Regions from separate parts of the Homo sapiens genome. Here region 1 is linked to region 2. Evidence: promoter capture Hi-C in 16 types of primary human blood cells and fetal thymus (Javierre and others, 2016). All regions are on one chromosome and are shown on one strand. Each heading gives the region's core, a stretch centred on a gene start or on the middle of the fragment in contact. The rest is flanking DNA. Distances are from core to core; before and after follow the strand shown.

The links. Contacts are between HindIII fragments. The CHiCAGO score rates a contact against its expected background, and 5 or more counts as called.
Region 1: a contact is called between a fragment that was not itself captured here and the fragment with the promoter of CTXN2 in region 2, in 2 of 17 cell types (M2 macrophages and M0 macrophages). The highest score is 6.4, in M2 macrophages.

What each region holds. Positions count from the first base shown.
Region 1 is chr15:47,193,552-47,200,519 of GRCh38, reverse strand. It overlaps a transcript of SEMA6D not described here. Among named protein-coding and RNA genes, the nearest start is that of SEMA6D, 520 kb to the left of the region's middle. The HindIII fragment of the contact is 4,207 bases long and covers 1-3,638 here.
Region 2 is chr15:48,189,406-48,196,783 of GRCh38, reverse strand. It overlaps CTXN2 (cortexin 2), which reads right to left and starts at 5,119. Exons shown (of 2, transcript NM_001145668.2): 1 at 4,931-5,119. It overlaps CTXN2-AS1 (CTXN2 antisense RNA 1), which reads left to right and starts at 5,075. Exons shown (of 3, transcript NR_184082.1): 1 at 5,075-5,199; 2 at 5,723-5,851; 3 at 7,275-7,378. RefSeq lists an enhancer at 4,612-5,115. The HindIII fragment of the contact is 9,900 bases long and covers 4,171-7,378 here.

The sequences.
Region 1 (6,968 bases), core at 286-2,785, 990 kb after region 2:
TTATAATTAAAAGTGGCACTGTGAATTTATTCCAGGCTTATTTTATGCTTTTGAGTACATATTTTGTTCCCAACAGATATGTGAATTTTATAAAATATAATTTTCTGACCCCAGAGAAGGGTTGCCAACTCTCCCTCAAACAGGTACCACTTAAATTTGTTTATCTGATTAGTTGTACCTTGTTTCCTAGTCCTTTATAGTCTTGTAACACTTTTCACAAATATAGTTGGTCTTCTTCCCAACAAGCTAATAAGATCAGCACATCAGATACTCACAGATTGAGGAAGCAAGGGGAGCTAAATCAAAACTGGAGTCTTGTGATTTCCACAGCCCTTTCGCCCTTTCCCTTATTTCAGGGCAACTTAAGTACACAGATAATCTTCAGTGTTCCTTTGTTGAGTAATCTTGCTTTTGGTTTGAGCAGAACGTAGTGATATGGAGTATATAGACAAAGACACATAGATATACATCATAAAAGTGTGTTCTCTGAGGATGACCTCAGTTCTACCGCAACTGGCTGAAATCTAGGCATGCTACTTGGCCTCTCAAAGATTCTGTTTTTTTAAATCTGTCAAACAGTATTAATAATAGTAACTTTCATAATGAGAACTAAATGAAATAACGTATGTAACTAGCTAACCTAGCTCACTGCAAAATGCACAGTATGAATTTGGTAAATGCCATTTATTTGTATTATTAGACATCTCAGTTCACACACACACACATATACACAAAATACTCTAGAATAAATCCTACACTTTGGTACTGAGAAGGCAGGAGAGAGGAGAGATATATTTTAGTTTAGCAAGTTTTCTTGCAAAGGAAGGTTTGAGGAGTGTTTTATCATGGAAAAGTTGAGCACAGGTCAAGATGGAATAAATAAATTTCTAGCTCTTCTGTAGTTAGGTTTTCACAATGGGACTACATCATTTTTTTGGAAGGAATTGCAGAAATATCACACACATACACAAGGACCCATGTACATATCCACTTAGATATTTAAATATTTGTTCTAAAACATATTCCAAGTAAAACAGGAATGTTTTTATTTTCTGCTTTTGTAGGGGAGACACACACTCTTCCTAGAGTACAGAGCTCTAAGTGGCTTGCTTATACCTTTGCCTTACTCAACTACAAAACCTACTCCACCCAGCAAGACTACTCAGCAAAACACTTTGCTGGAAATGTATTGTGAATTCACAGGAATTGCAGTTCTCCAGGTGGTGTAATTCATGGCTGGTAATGAGAGCAGCTGAAACCATCTGTTTTCATAACTTTCTTCTGCACCTTAATATAAACCTCTTCATTAGCCAATAGGTCTATTTAACTATCCTAACACATTTGCTTCCTGAAATATTTTGTGGAAAGACTAGAAATAATGAGATAAAAACAGATAAACAAACAAACAAGTGGACTTACATACAGAAACTTTTAATGATCTTAAAGCCCAATTACTTACTGCTGATGCTGAGGCACAAAGGCAAAACCAATAGGGGAAAAGTGTAAAGTAGTTGTCAATGTTTTTCTCTTCCACATCTTTTTCCTGTTTAGTCCTCAGAATGATGCTTTTTAAGGGAAGTTCCTTCCCAGGAAAGGACTCCAAACTGTACCCATTGAAATCTCTTCCCTTAGGTGTTTCAGAGAAGCACAAAAACATATTGACGTATACGTGTCCTCCCTCCTGTCACTGTATAATTTTGTGATCCTTTGCTACAAACAGTTTGTCAAAAATATTGGTGTCAAGGAAGCAGAATGAAAATTTTGGGCTTTGGGTTTAGAAAAAGTTAAATTTGAATCCTGGTTCTCTTGCTTACTAATTAACCGTTATCCTCCCCAAAGAAAAGAGAAAAAAAAATCTCATCCAATTGCAAGTGTGAATCCAGGTCCCTGCTTGGACCACCCTTGGTGTGAAAGATTCACTTGGGAGTTACACAACACAGGAGCCCTTCTAAGCAGAGGAGGAGGCCAAGCTGTTATTGTTTTCACCTAATCCACTTCCTTAGAGCTCTGTCTTTAGGAATCAACATGATCCTAGACACAATGGGATCCATATCTTATTTTTTTAATTGACAGATAAAATTGTATATATTTATATTGCACAATATCAAATCCTGAAAAATACATACTTTGAATGGTATAATCAAGCCAATCAACATATGCATTACCTCACAGAGTTGTCATATTTTGTAGTGAGAACACAAAATCCGCCCACAGCAATTTTCAAGAATTCAGTATATTAACTATCGTCACCATTTGTACAATGGATTTCTTGAACCTATTCCTCCTGTCTAACTGAAATTTTATATCCTTTGACCAAGATCTTCCCACCCTCTGCACCAACCCCTGGTAACCACCATCCTACTCTCCACATCTATGAGATCAATTTTTTACATTCCACGTGTGAGTGAGATCATGAGGTATATACACAATGGAGTACCATTCAGCCACAAAAAAATAAGGAAAATCTGTAATTTGCAACAACTCAGATGAAGTTGGAGGGCATTATGTTACATGTGTCAGGTAATACCAACTCTGTCCTTTTCTAGGACAGTAAGCCTTTTGACTCCCCAAGGAAATGATTTAAATATATCCAAAAATTATTATTAGTTTACAAATATGACACAGAAAGAAATTTGTATTTTGAAAAATTAGTAAAAAAAATAAGAAATATAAACAATAATACTTAGAGTACTCCATAGTGTGTATATATTAAACAGTGCAATAATTAATGACGGCATGGGAATACAGATCTCCATATCAAGAGGTCATTTCAAGACATTTCTGATAAATTATCCAAAACAGCCAAAGAAACTGGTAGGCTGAGAAAAGCCCTTCAGTGAGTCAAGAATCATCAAACAAGACTTAATGCTAGGATTTTTTTTTCCCACTAATTTTGTTGTGGTAGTTAAATTAGAGGCTATGAATGAACTATTGTGGATTTATTTCAATTAATTCCCCCTCTCCACTCCTTTCTTTCAATCTTTAGCTTAGGTCTTCATTACAAAAAAAAAAAAAGACACTTGCAAGTTCAATCTTTGAGATAAATTTAACAAAGCAAGGCAAGATAGAAGAGCAGTCTATGCACATCTGTAACCTAATTTAAAAACAGAATTTGAGGGGCCATCCTAATTGTTCTTCTGATTTTCTACTCTATTCCAATGATTTAAAGACCTTAAACTCACTGCCTGTGAAAACTTAAAAGTGTTGGCACACAGAGAACCAGTTAAGTTTGGCTCTCTAAACATCTGGAAGATAACCTCGTATACAGGGTACAGCATCAAATCATCACAGGCTAGGAGGAGAGACTCTTCTATAATGGAGAGTAAAATCTCACAGGTTAGGGAAGAACAACTGTTCTTGAAAGTACCAAAGTGATATTAATGAATCCACAGAAGAAGCTAAAAAACCACCACCACAGGTACTTAAATCCAAACTACAGAAAGGGGGAGGGTTAGATTCCCCATTTGGCCACATAGATGAGCAAAGGTTTTTTGAATTTATATGTGATTTTTTTTCTTAACAGTGCTAAGATCTCCTAGTATATCCTGTTCAAGAAACCATTAAGAATCTGGTAGTTTTCCCAGTTACTCAAAATTCTAATGAACAGAAGCAGCCACACAAACCCAACCTGACAAGCTTAAGATCTTTTGTTGGTTGTCTTCTATAATTGATATTATGTGTATATTGAGAATAAATGGATGCTGTAGCCTCGTGCCAGTAGCTCTTTCTAACATGTTTCGCATTCTCTTGAATCGTGTGCAACTTTAGAAATTTCCAATCATCTTACTTTTAAATACCTCAGCTTACAATATGAAAGGGCTTAGCGCTGATTTAAATTAAGACATTTTACATAGCTCTGCCTGCATGCTTTCAAAATACTCAGTCAATTAACATAAGCTACCTTCCAAAGGATTTGCTTTAAGTCAGGTGGAAAGGAATATTATTTCAGAACCAAAGAAGGAAAAAAGAATATGGAACATACAGCAAACCAAATTTCTGAAAAAACGTTAAAACTGCTCAATTTCCCCATATTTTAGGGGGGCTGTCTTTTTTCCTCTTTAAAGAGTTCTACCAAAGATCTCTTTTGGCACACAAATGTCCTCCAGGAGGTCTCCCAAGGGATATAATATCCAAAATGTTGCAGCCCCTTCTATCAGACAGTGGCTCAGAAAGCCTCTCTGCAGCCTCCAAAATACTGCAGGCTCAATTACCCTCCGGGTGCAGTGAACGGGCAGAGCCATTAATCATTCCCAGGGCACTAAACGCCTTGAGAACAGTTCTGAGTCTGGCAGCATTAGGGATGTCCAAGAACTGAGCTTGTCTCCAACAGCTGGGCCATGCTGCCACCTGGAGGACAGCAGAACACATAGCTCCTCAGATGCCAGTTACTTCCCTCCAGTCCTAGTGGACCTACAACGTGTGGGCTATGCTGGATGAATATCACCTGCTTCTTGGGTGGTTAACCCTGTTCTCACGTCTCCAAAAAAAAAAAAATCTGAAACTTTCCCCTTCATTGATAACTTGCTGTGGAGCACCTGAGGCCAGTGGTGGTGGGTGAAGGCAGGTGGCCTGGGGGGCCTTGCTTTCTCTGCTGTCCTTCATCCACACGCTCACCCACGTTGAATCCCCATCTGTAGGTGAGCCTTTCCTCTTACTCACCCATCCAGTTAATGGGGGTCTCACATTCTGTTCTTTCAACAAGACATCGTGTCCACCCTCAAAGTGCTCAGACTCTGGATGAAGAGGTAGACAAGAGAATAGAAGGCTGTGCTCATTCATGATAAATGTTCAAACACGGCGAGCACAAGATGCAGTGGAACCCCGAGAAGAGATACCTAAATTGGTCAGGGTCAGGGGTTAAAGGACATTAGGAAAGTCTCCCGTGAGAGTGATCCTTTAGAGGCATCATGAAAAGAACAAGAGTGTGGTTTTGACATCTGGTAAGACCATGGTAAAATACACAATTATAACCACAAATCATGCAAACTTTCTGATTTTCATTTTCTTCCCCTGGAAAATTTTTGTATTAATACCTATCTTATAATGTTATCAGGGGAGATAGAAAATTATATATGTCAAAGAGCTGTGATAGTATATTAGCTCAACACCAGATAATCATTTTTGTTCTAATTATCCCAGCTCTGGCAGAGAAAGTTAGACTTATCTGGGCAGAGATAAAGGGCAGGGAACGGATGATGCAGCCCAAGTAAGACAGGTGAGAAAGCAATGTGCTCTGGGGTCTTCACACAGCACATTGTCACTGGAAACACTTCTGTTTCACCCTTCTTTTCATGTTTCTCTGTGTCCATCTTTCCTCTTTTTATTCTGCTCTTTTTTTCTCCACTGTCCCCACTTAACACTCAAGGGAAAGTAAAAATGCCATTTGTTTCTAGAATATTAAACAAGTTTTTAAGTTTCAGGTAATTAATGATAAGAATATTTGTATGGAGGAGAAATAGGCATCTGGAAATGATTCTTTTTTTCATCAAATTTCCTTTACGTAACTTGGTGGAAAACTTAGTAGGCAGGTAATGCTATTCTGGTAAGTGCTGACACCGGTTGATCCCTATAGAATGCACTAGTTAAGTTTGAGTGAGCTGTAGTGACACCTCCTGGTAAGACAAAGAGAACATCATTCAACACAAAACTTTCCAGGCCTTTATACTTTTATGATAAAAAGCAGTACATGAAAACATCTTCCATATGAAGTATCTTCCTAGGTGGAACAAAAAGTTTGTCTGTAAAGATAGATACACTCACATATGTACATACTCCAGTTGACTGACTACCATTTTAAAAACTGGCTGAGTCAAAGAAAGAAAACAGTTTTGTTTTTATGTCATGACATCAGGTAACTGTAATTTCCTAGACAAATATTTCATTCACATATTTTGGTACTATGTGTGCAAGGCCCTACTGAACATTCTCTAAAGCTAAGAAGAAGTTACTTTATGTAGTATTTTTGACCTGGTTCTTTGTGAAATGCTGATCTGATACTTCCTCTTGAATGCCTGGACTACCAACACCTTAATACTTCCACCTCAACCCTGCCCACTCCCTAGCCCCCACACGCAATTTCCCATAGGTCTGTCCTGGCCTGAAGTATCTTCAAGTCTAGAGTCCCCCAGTCCACTTACCTCCCCACTCTCCCTCTCAAACTCTCTAACTCTTTCAAAATGCACCGGTGTTTTGACAAGCATTTTTAAGACATTAGGTACCAGAAGTAAATGATAAGGAGTGTTAATAACTTAACCTTCTGTATCTCCTTAGTGACACATATATGACATATATATTTGACCTTGTAAATATTAAGTTAGCTTCTCTCAGAAATACAATTCCATGATCTTAATAGTAAGAATCTCAGCCAGCCAACCAAACCTATCATCCATCCACCCATCCACCCATCCACCCATCCATCCATCCACCCATCCACCCATCCACCCATCCATCCATCCACCTACCCACTCACCCAATATTTATTTAGTTGTCTACCATATGCTGTACTCTCTGTTAAGTATTAAGGGAACAAATGTAATCACAACAGACATTATCCTTGTTTCACAGAATTTAAAATCTAGTCATGAAATAGAGGGGAAAAGAGTTAACCAAACAAAAGAAAAGCTCAAATTGAGATAAGGTCTATTAAAGAGACAATAAGGAATAAAGAGTGAATAAAAAGAGTAAGAGATATTCTGCAGATTAATAGAAGTCACAGACAGGCTTTTCAAGGAGAAGGCAGAGCTAGAGACATGAAGGGCAGGAAGAAGCTATGAAGAGTCAATAAAAGTGTCCCAGATGAAGGGAACAGCATGCACAAAGGCCCTGTGACAGAACAAGAGTTTTTTTGTTTTGTTTTTGTTTTTGTTTTTCATAGAAATACCAAGGAAGCAGAGAGTGGTGAGAATTGAAGTTGATGTATGTGACTACAAGGATTCCATTCAAAGTGTAATGAGAAGCCTTTGGATGGT
Region 2 (7,378 bases), core at 3,870-6,369:
TTTGTTGCAAACCCATAATTAATTATTTAACAAGTAATTTGTCAATATTTAAGAAGTCATTAAAAGTTAACATGAGTTTAATAGGTAATGCCAATTCACTTCCTTTTCAAAAGTTTGCTACTAATATGATGAATCAGAGAAATAGCATGGACATGGTTTAGTTATTTTGGCAATGCATTTAACAGTCTCCCATGATATCTTTGTGGGGAAGATATGAGATATGCCTGGATAATAGTGTTTTTATGTAGATTCATAGATCTGAACTACCCTAATAAATATCGGGTTCTATAATCATGGACGTGGGTCTCCAGTGTGGTATTACAAAGGTTTCACTTTAATCTACGCATGTTTTCAGTGTTTTTGAACAGTGACTAAGTTGAAGATATTGAAGTGAAGCTTATTAAATTTGACAAAGTGTGGCTGAAATATGATAGCACATGGAAAAAACACTCAAGACAATTCTGATGCCTAGAATTCTGGGTTGAAGCTAGAACATAAAATTTAATAGAAACACTTCTAAAGCCCTTTGTTTAAGTGGGAGGGAAGGAGATGCACCAAATCCAAACAGGGGAGATAATGACTTGGCAATTCATGTAAAATAAATCTGTAAGCTGCAATTAGTCAAGTTAGCCTGAGCCAAAGATATGAGGTGGTGGCTTATAAAAGCAAATGTCTTAAATTGAATAGGGGTGCAAATGATAGAAAGTAATAACATTATTATAATGTGTCAGGCCACATATAAAGTAACACTGCATATATTCACTATACTTTCATTGAAACATATTTATTGGGTTGCTAGTATGCTCTAGTAGACATGCACTCCTCTACTTAAAGGGATTCCAACTAGTAAGGGAGAAGAGCCATGTACACACAAGGAAAGAAACAACAACATAGGCTTCTACAAAAGCAATAAAAAAGGAAGAGGAAGCCAACTTGTATTTAAAATCTACTGTGTATCAAATACTGCTTTACATATTTTATTTTATTCCCACAACACCCACATAGTGTTGATACTATCTTCAACATCTTGGTGAAAAAAAAGAAGATCCAAAAAGGATAAACAAGTTTAGATGAAATCAAGATATCACCCATTGAGGGATCAGGAAAGTTTTTCTTGCAAGAGATTGTATTTGAACTGAGTCTTGAGAGACAGAATGATTCAAATCTGTGAAGAAGAAAAAAGCATGACAATAAATATGAAGGCAGAAAAATACTGGATTTTTTCAGAGCACAGTGAGCAATTTGGTACAGGCAAGGGGGAGTATGGGAAACAAAGCGTTGGAAAGGTAGGTTGGAGCCAAATTGTGAAATATGTTGACTGTCAGGCTAAGAGTTTGAAATCTATTTGCTTAAAGGCTGAGTGGCTTGATGATGAGACTGAAATAGACATAATTTTGAGGGAGAGAGCATCACGGGAAAGAAATGGTTCAGGTGAGAAGCAATGAGGGTCTCCACTAGGGAGTAGATGTATGAAAGAGGGTAGAGGTTGGAAAGATATTTAGAAAAGTAGGAGGGATAGGATTTGGAAAGTAGTGGGCCCAAGGAGAGAGAGGCATCAAAGATGACTCTACACTATTAAGCTCGGACAAGTGTAAATATAGTGTTTTTATTAATCAAAACAAAGAAAATAAGAGCAAAGCATAGACTTAAAAAGTAAATGACAAGTTTATTTCTGGACTTGGTGAATTTGTGGTACTCATGTGTGGCACTTAGTAGGCACTCAATTGTCAGCTTTCAATAAATTTATCCAGATCATTTTGTCTAGCATAAAATTTTTGATGGGGAGAATATTTTAAGGTATTGTTGTCAAATAACGTTTGTGTAGAAGACTTTATACAGGATGGAGAGAGCCCAGTACATAGAAATATTTGCAGATCAAAACTTAAAGAGAAGAAAAGAATTGTTGAGTTTTGCCTAGGAAAGGGAAGACCAAGAAGGACAATAGGTAGACTCAAATATTTGAAATATTATCTTGTAGGAAGCCAGATGGACTTGTTCTAGATTGATCCAGAGAGCAATTTTACTGTAATTCCATTAAAGTCTATTTTCTGTTACCAGAAAAGATTAAAGATGGAAGAAGCCTAGCAAGGAACTCCAAGGAATGCCTCTCCTACAAGGAGGATCTCCTAGTGGAGTTATATAAGATGAATCATGAGTAAATCTGTAGCAGAAAGTTCACCTATAATAAAGGAGGCTAGGGCTTCTAGAATGAGGCATTAGCAAACAGTGTCAAATTCTGCAGCGGTGATGGAAACTAAGCACTGGAAAACAGGGTCTTATGGTTGGCATTCAGAATTATTTCATCATTATAAAAATTTAGTTGAGAGTCTAGGAGGGACACTAAATTGAATTGGATTTAGGAGTGAGGGGTAATGAGAAAATGGAGTCAGGTGGTAAATAAACTTGACAGAAAATAAGTTTTACTTAGTCGGTACAGAAGGTTAAATCATATGATGAATCACTTTCAATAATGAAGACATGACTGCATATTCAGTTTTTAAAGGAAGAGCTCCATAAATTTACCTGGATTCAAAGAACTGTAAAATTTCCATTTTTAACAAAAAAAAAATGGGTTGAGAAAGAACAAATGTTTTATTAATATCTTAAAAGAGAAAACAGGCTTTTATATTTATCATAAAATATACTTTATACTAAAGATGAAAACAAAATACAGGTCAAGGAGAGCAACTGAAAAAGTAATATTCAAAGGCTGATTAAAAATTTGTCCATTGCTGCAGGCTGTGCCTACACAAGCAAATAGAAGTAAAAAGTTAAGCAATTGCCTAACAATGTGTTCAGCAAATAGATGGTTTTAGTAATTTAAACCATATATATAGCAGTTGAAATATCAGTATTTCAGGCCTAAATTTTTCAAACAATTGGCCAAACTTTCCATTTTACTTGCTCTGTGAAATGAAGAACTTGTCTCATTTCAACAACAAATCCAAAGTTTTTGAGGATATACTGTTAAGTGTGCCAAGTCCTGCTTTTCTACTGATATAGAGCATAATATGATATGAAAATATTGTTAATAACAAAATATTATTAAAAACAAAAGTCCCCAGTTATAAAACTGATTCATTCACAATTACTAAGGTGTTCAAAATACTCAACAGTTATAGATAAAATATGCATTTTCACTTTCTCTAAAAGCTGGAAGAGCTATTCACAACAGACACTGTAATGCCTAGCTCCAGAGAAGCATCATTTTAATATCCTGTTTATTGGGAAATAGAAAAAAAAAGAAATCTGAGAAAATTTAGATTAAGTTACAAAACCATATATTAAAAAATCCATATAAAAATAGTTAAGAAAAAATGAACTTTCAAAAATAAGTAGAATGTAAAATTGGGTAGTGGTAAAAGTTATTTGAAATATATTATACCACAAAATTGGGTAAAATAAACAATGCACAGTTTAAATATCAGGATCAATATATATAATGATTAAAATATTTAAGTGTCTTTTAATACTACTGATGCAAATGATAAAATATTGTCTTGAGCCATATTCACTGGAATAAATGGTTAGGTACTTTGGCAATGAGTAACTTGGTTGAAAGTACATTTCCTTCATGGCAATTGTCAGGCACCAAGATTTCTAAGTACTGATGAGTCATAAGATTGGGCCAGGGGTGTTCCTGTAGATATCAAATAGCCCAAATCTCATGAAGTTGCTTTGTAATTGGCAACTAGTAAGTAAAAAACAAAGTCTTCCTATGATCAGTACTTACAAATCATATCTCCGTAAGCAGTTAAGCAAAGATGATAGTATTTTTATACCTGATATGCAGCCTTTCATATTCATGAATATTGTTAGTGATGTTTATGTCTTCTGTGAAATAACCTTACTAGAGATATAAAAATATACCTTTCAGATAAAATCATTTAATCATGCAACAATGCACAATTACAGAAACTAATGTTAAAAAGTGTGTACCCATTAAAGAAAGAACCTCCTGTGTTTTATTTTAATCAACAGGTTTTTCCTCTTGTTTATTTCTCTAGTAATGGTATTCCAAACAATAAACCTGAAATAATAACTATTAGAGTGGAATATGATGTTCTAGGTAGAAAGTATTTTAGCACTGGTCATTAGATATAATAATCTCTACTGCTAATGATGACATTCATAATTTCATGAAATAAGACATATAAGAAAACCCAAGCTTAAAAAATAATGAACCATTCCATACATATACACACTCCACACAAAATATAAAGATTATATCCCAGTAAAAGAGAGAAAAGAAGCATTATTGAAACCACATCTGCACAGAGGTAGTTAATCATTAAGAATCGAATGTGTTGGAATAAAAGGAAAACCTTAAATTACAAACCTAGATGTCTTCATCATGGTGAAATGCATAAATTTCAGGGCTTTCCAGAGATCCCAGACCTTAGGATCTGCCAGAATCCACCCCTAAACCCTCAGATTTCAACCTTAAGAGAATTTCTCTCTTAAGAGAATCTTTGGATGGCTCAAGGACTCTGACACTCAATCCTTCCAACGCACTGGGAAACCTGGTCTGAAAATTCTCCAGATATCTCATTAAAGAAACCTAGACCATCATCATCATTCTGCGTTGTTTGTTTCCAGGTCTCTTTCTACGCACTAAACCGAAGAAGCATGGAAACTTCCTACAAAACATTATGGGAGAAGCATCAGCAATCTGCACGTACACAACACTTTTCCCCCGCCTGGCAGCCGCATCAGCAGTGGCGCTAGCATTAGGGGTGCTGTTTCTCCTTTAGAATTTGAACTTATCAGACCTACTGGCTCCTCCACCCACCGCCCCACCCCCCGCTCTTTTGCTTCAGAAATACAAGAGAATGAGGACATGCTTCTCATCTGGACCTGCATTTGGAACGCTGTCAGTTAATGCGGAGGGAAGGGGGAGAAAGTTACTTCGCAGACAGCGATGTCTCACCTTCCATGCTTGTTGCCATGGAGATGAAGTCCAGCCAGTAGACTTAAGTGTTGGCACGTTTGTCTGTGTTCGCTGATCGGTTCAGTAACAAATGTAGAAGGCGTGTTCTGGAACCTGCGTAGAGTCACAGGGCCCTGGTTAGCGCTTTCCTGGCCTAGAAGTGTAAATGTCTGTGTCTGTTGGTGAGACAGAGGACGTGGGCGCCCGCCGAAGTACGTGTGCGCGCGCGCGTTTGCAGGAAAACGTGCATGGATTTCTTCGGTGTGGCAGTGTGTAAATATTTGCGCTCGCGTGTGTCTGTGGCAGCATCTGTGTGTGTATGTGAGACTGAAAGGAGGTGGGAGATGAGGAGGGGAAGGGAATCAGCTCCAGCAGCAACAGGCTCTATTCTTCAGTTCTGCTAAAAGAAAGAGGAAGAGAGGAAGAAAAAAATAGACACTCCTTTTTTTTCTCACGACACACCCTGAAGGTTAGCAATTAGATTTCATCATTATCTTTGTTTACTAAGGCAGTGAGGGTTTAATTGATTTACTGCTGAAATCCTTGTTTTGCTCTCTTTGCTGCATTCCTGGCTGTGCTGCGGGCATTTTGCTGTGCTTTGGTGACAGCCGTTTTCAGTAGAACAGTAGGCACTAAATTCTTACACGTTTCTTCTTATCCGGTAAGGAAAATTCAGGAGTGAAAGGTGTATTGATTTAACTGGAGACTGAATGTGTCGTTTGGAGTTCTTTTCCTCTACTCTTTCCCTTCTCTCTTCCACACAAACACAACTGAATCCCCTTCCGTTTCTAGGAGAAGGCGCCTAGGCGCTGTCCGTAGTGCTGAAATGGTGCGTGGTGAGACCTGTCTCCCCAACACAAGCTAGAAGACAACAAAATAGCAGCCAGGAAACGCTCTGATAAAGCTCTAGATAGCTGCCAGGTACGTTTTCTAAACAGTGTTGAATATGTAGATTCTAAACCTAACCGACGTTGAAAGCAAGGTAAAGCAAAGCAAAGCAAAGGAAAACAAAAAAACAACAACAGAAACCTTGCTCTTTATCCTTATTTTAGGGGTCTGGCCGTTTCAACAAACTCAGTTACAGGGTTCCCAATTCTATTTATGTTTTGCGACTCTATCCAGAACCTACAAGTTGCAAGCACTTTTAGATTCCCTACAATCTTAATTATTCACCTTATAACTACTGGACTGTGAGTCGTTGGGGGAAATGTAGATACAGAATTGGGACACTCATCTAAAGAAAATACTTTGAAAACGTAATGTAACTGCAACTAGATTCAATAACAAAGTGAAGACAAACTTCATGATTATTTAGAGTATTTACTGATTTAGGAAATGTAATGGTCTTACAAAAAAATGGGCAATGTATAACTGAGAGTTCATATAAGACCACATTTTTTAAAAGTTGTTTTTTGATTTTAAACTATTAAGATGTCCTAAAATGTAGGTGAACTAACTGCCCTCTATGAAAGACTGAAAGACATATCTTATTCTAGGGACATTTCCATGGCCATGGTTTTATTGACCCTTTTTAAACTTGCCAAGGGCCACATTCTTTATTAGCACTCTGGGCTGGAACAGTGCTTCTTGAAGTATAACATGCATATGAATCTTCAACGATCTTGCTAAAATGCAGACTCTGATTCAGTAGGTGTGGGGTTGGGTCTCAGATTGTGCTTTTCTGACAATTTCCTAGGTGATGCCAGAGATTACTAGTTTTGGGACCAATTAAAGTAGCAAGATGCAGCCAGGAGTGGTGGCTTATGCCTGTAATCCCAGCACTTTGGGAGGCCGAGGTAGGAGGATCACCTGAGGTGAGGAGTTTGAGACCAGCCTGACCAACATGGCGAAACCCTGTCTCTACTAAAAATACAAAAATTAGCTGGGTGTGGTGGTGGGTGCCTGTAATCCCAGCTACTCAGGAGACTGAGGCAGGAGAATCACTTGAACTCAGGAGGCGGACATTGCAGTGAGCTGAGATTGTGCCACTGCACTCCAGCCTGGGTGACAGAGCGAGACATTGTCTCAAAATAAATAAATAAATAAAAATAAAGTAGCAAGATGCTAGAGATATTGAATTCTGGCAATGCAGTCAGTCATAGATTGTGGGAAAGGAGATCATTTTATTCCATCTATTATTCTATGTATGTTTCCAAACTGTTACAAAAATAATTTATTCAAAATTAGTTCAGAGACTAATCATGTAAACATTTTGTCTGTACAGTATGAACAATTTTTTATGAATTTGATTCCTTTGATTTTGATTTTGACATTGTCTGGACCAGTGGTATAGTTGAGTCTGTATTTCCATACTATGATCTATAACCATTCATTCTCTTTGCAGGCCGAGCTCAAGGGAGCAGAACTAAGTTACATGATTCTGCTGCGGATGTATAAGCACCACTCCAATAATTTATTATCACGGTTGGAGACTTTGACTTGTCACTT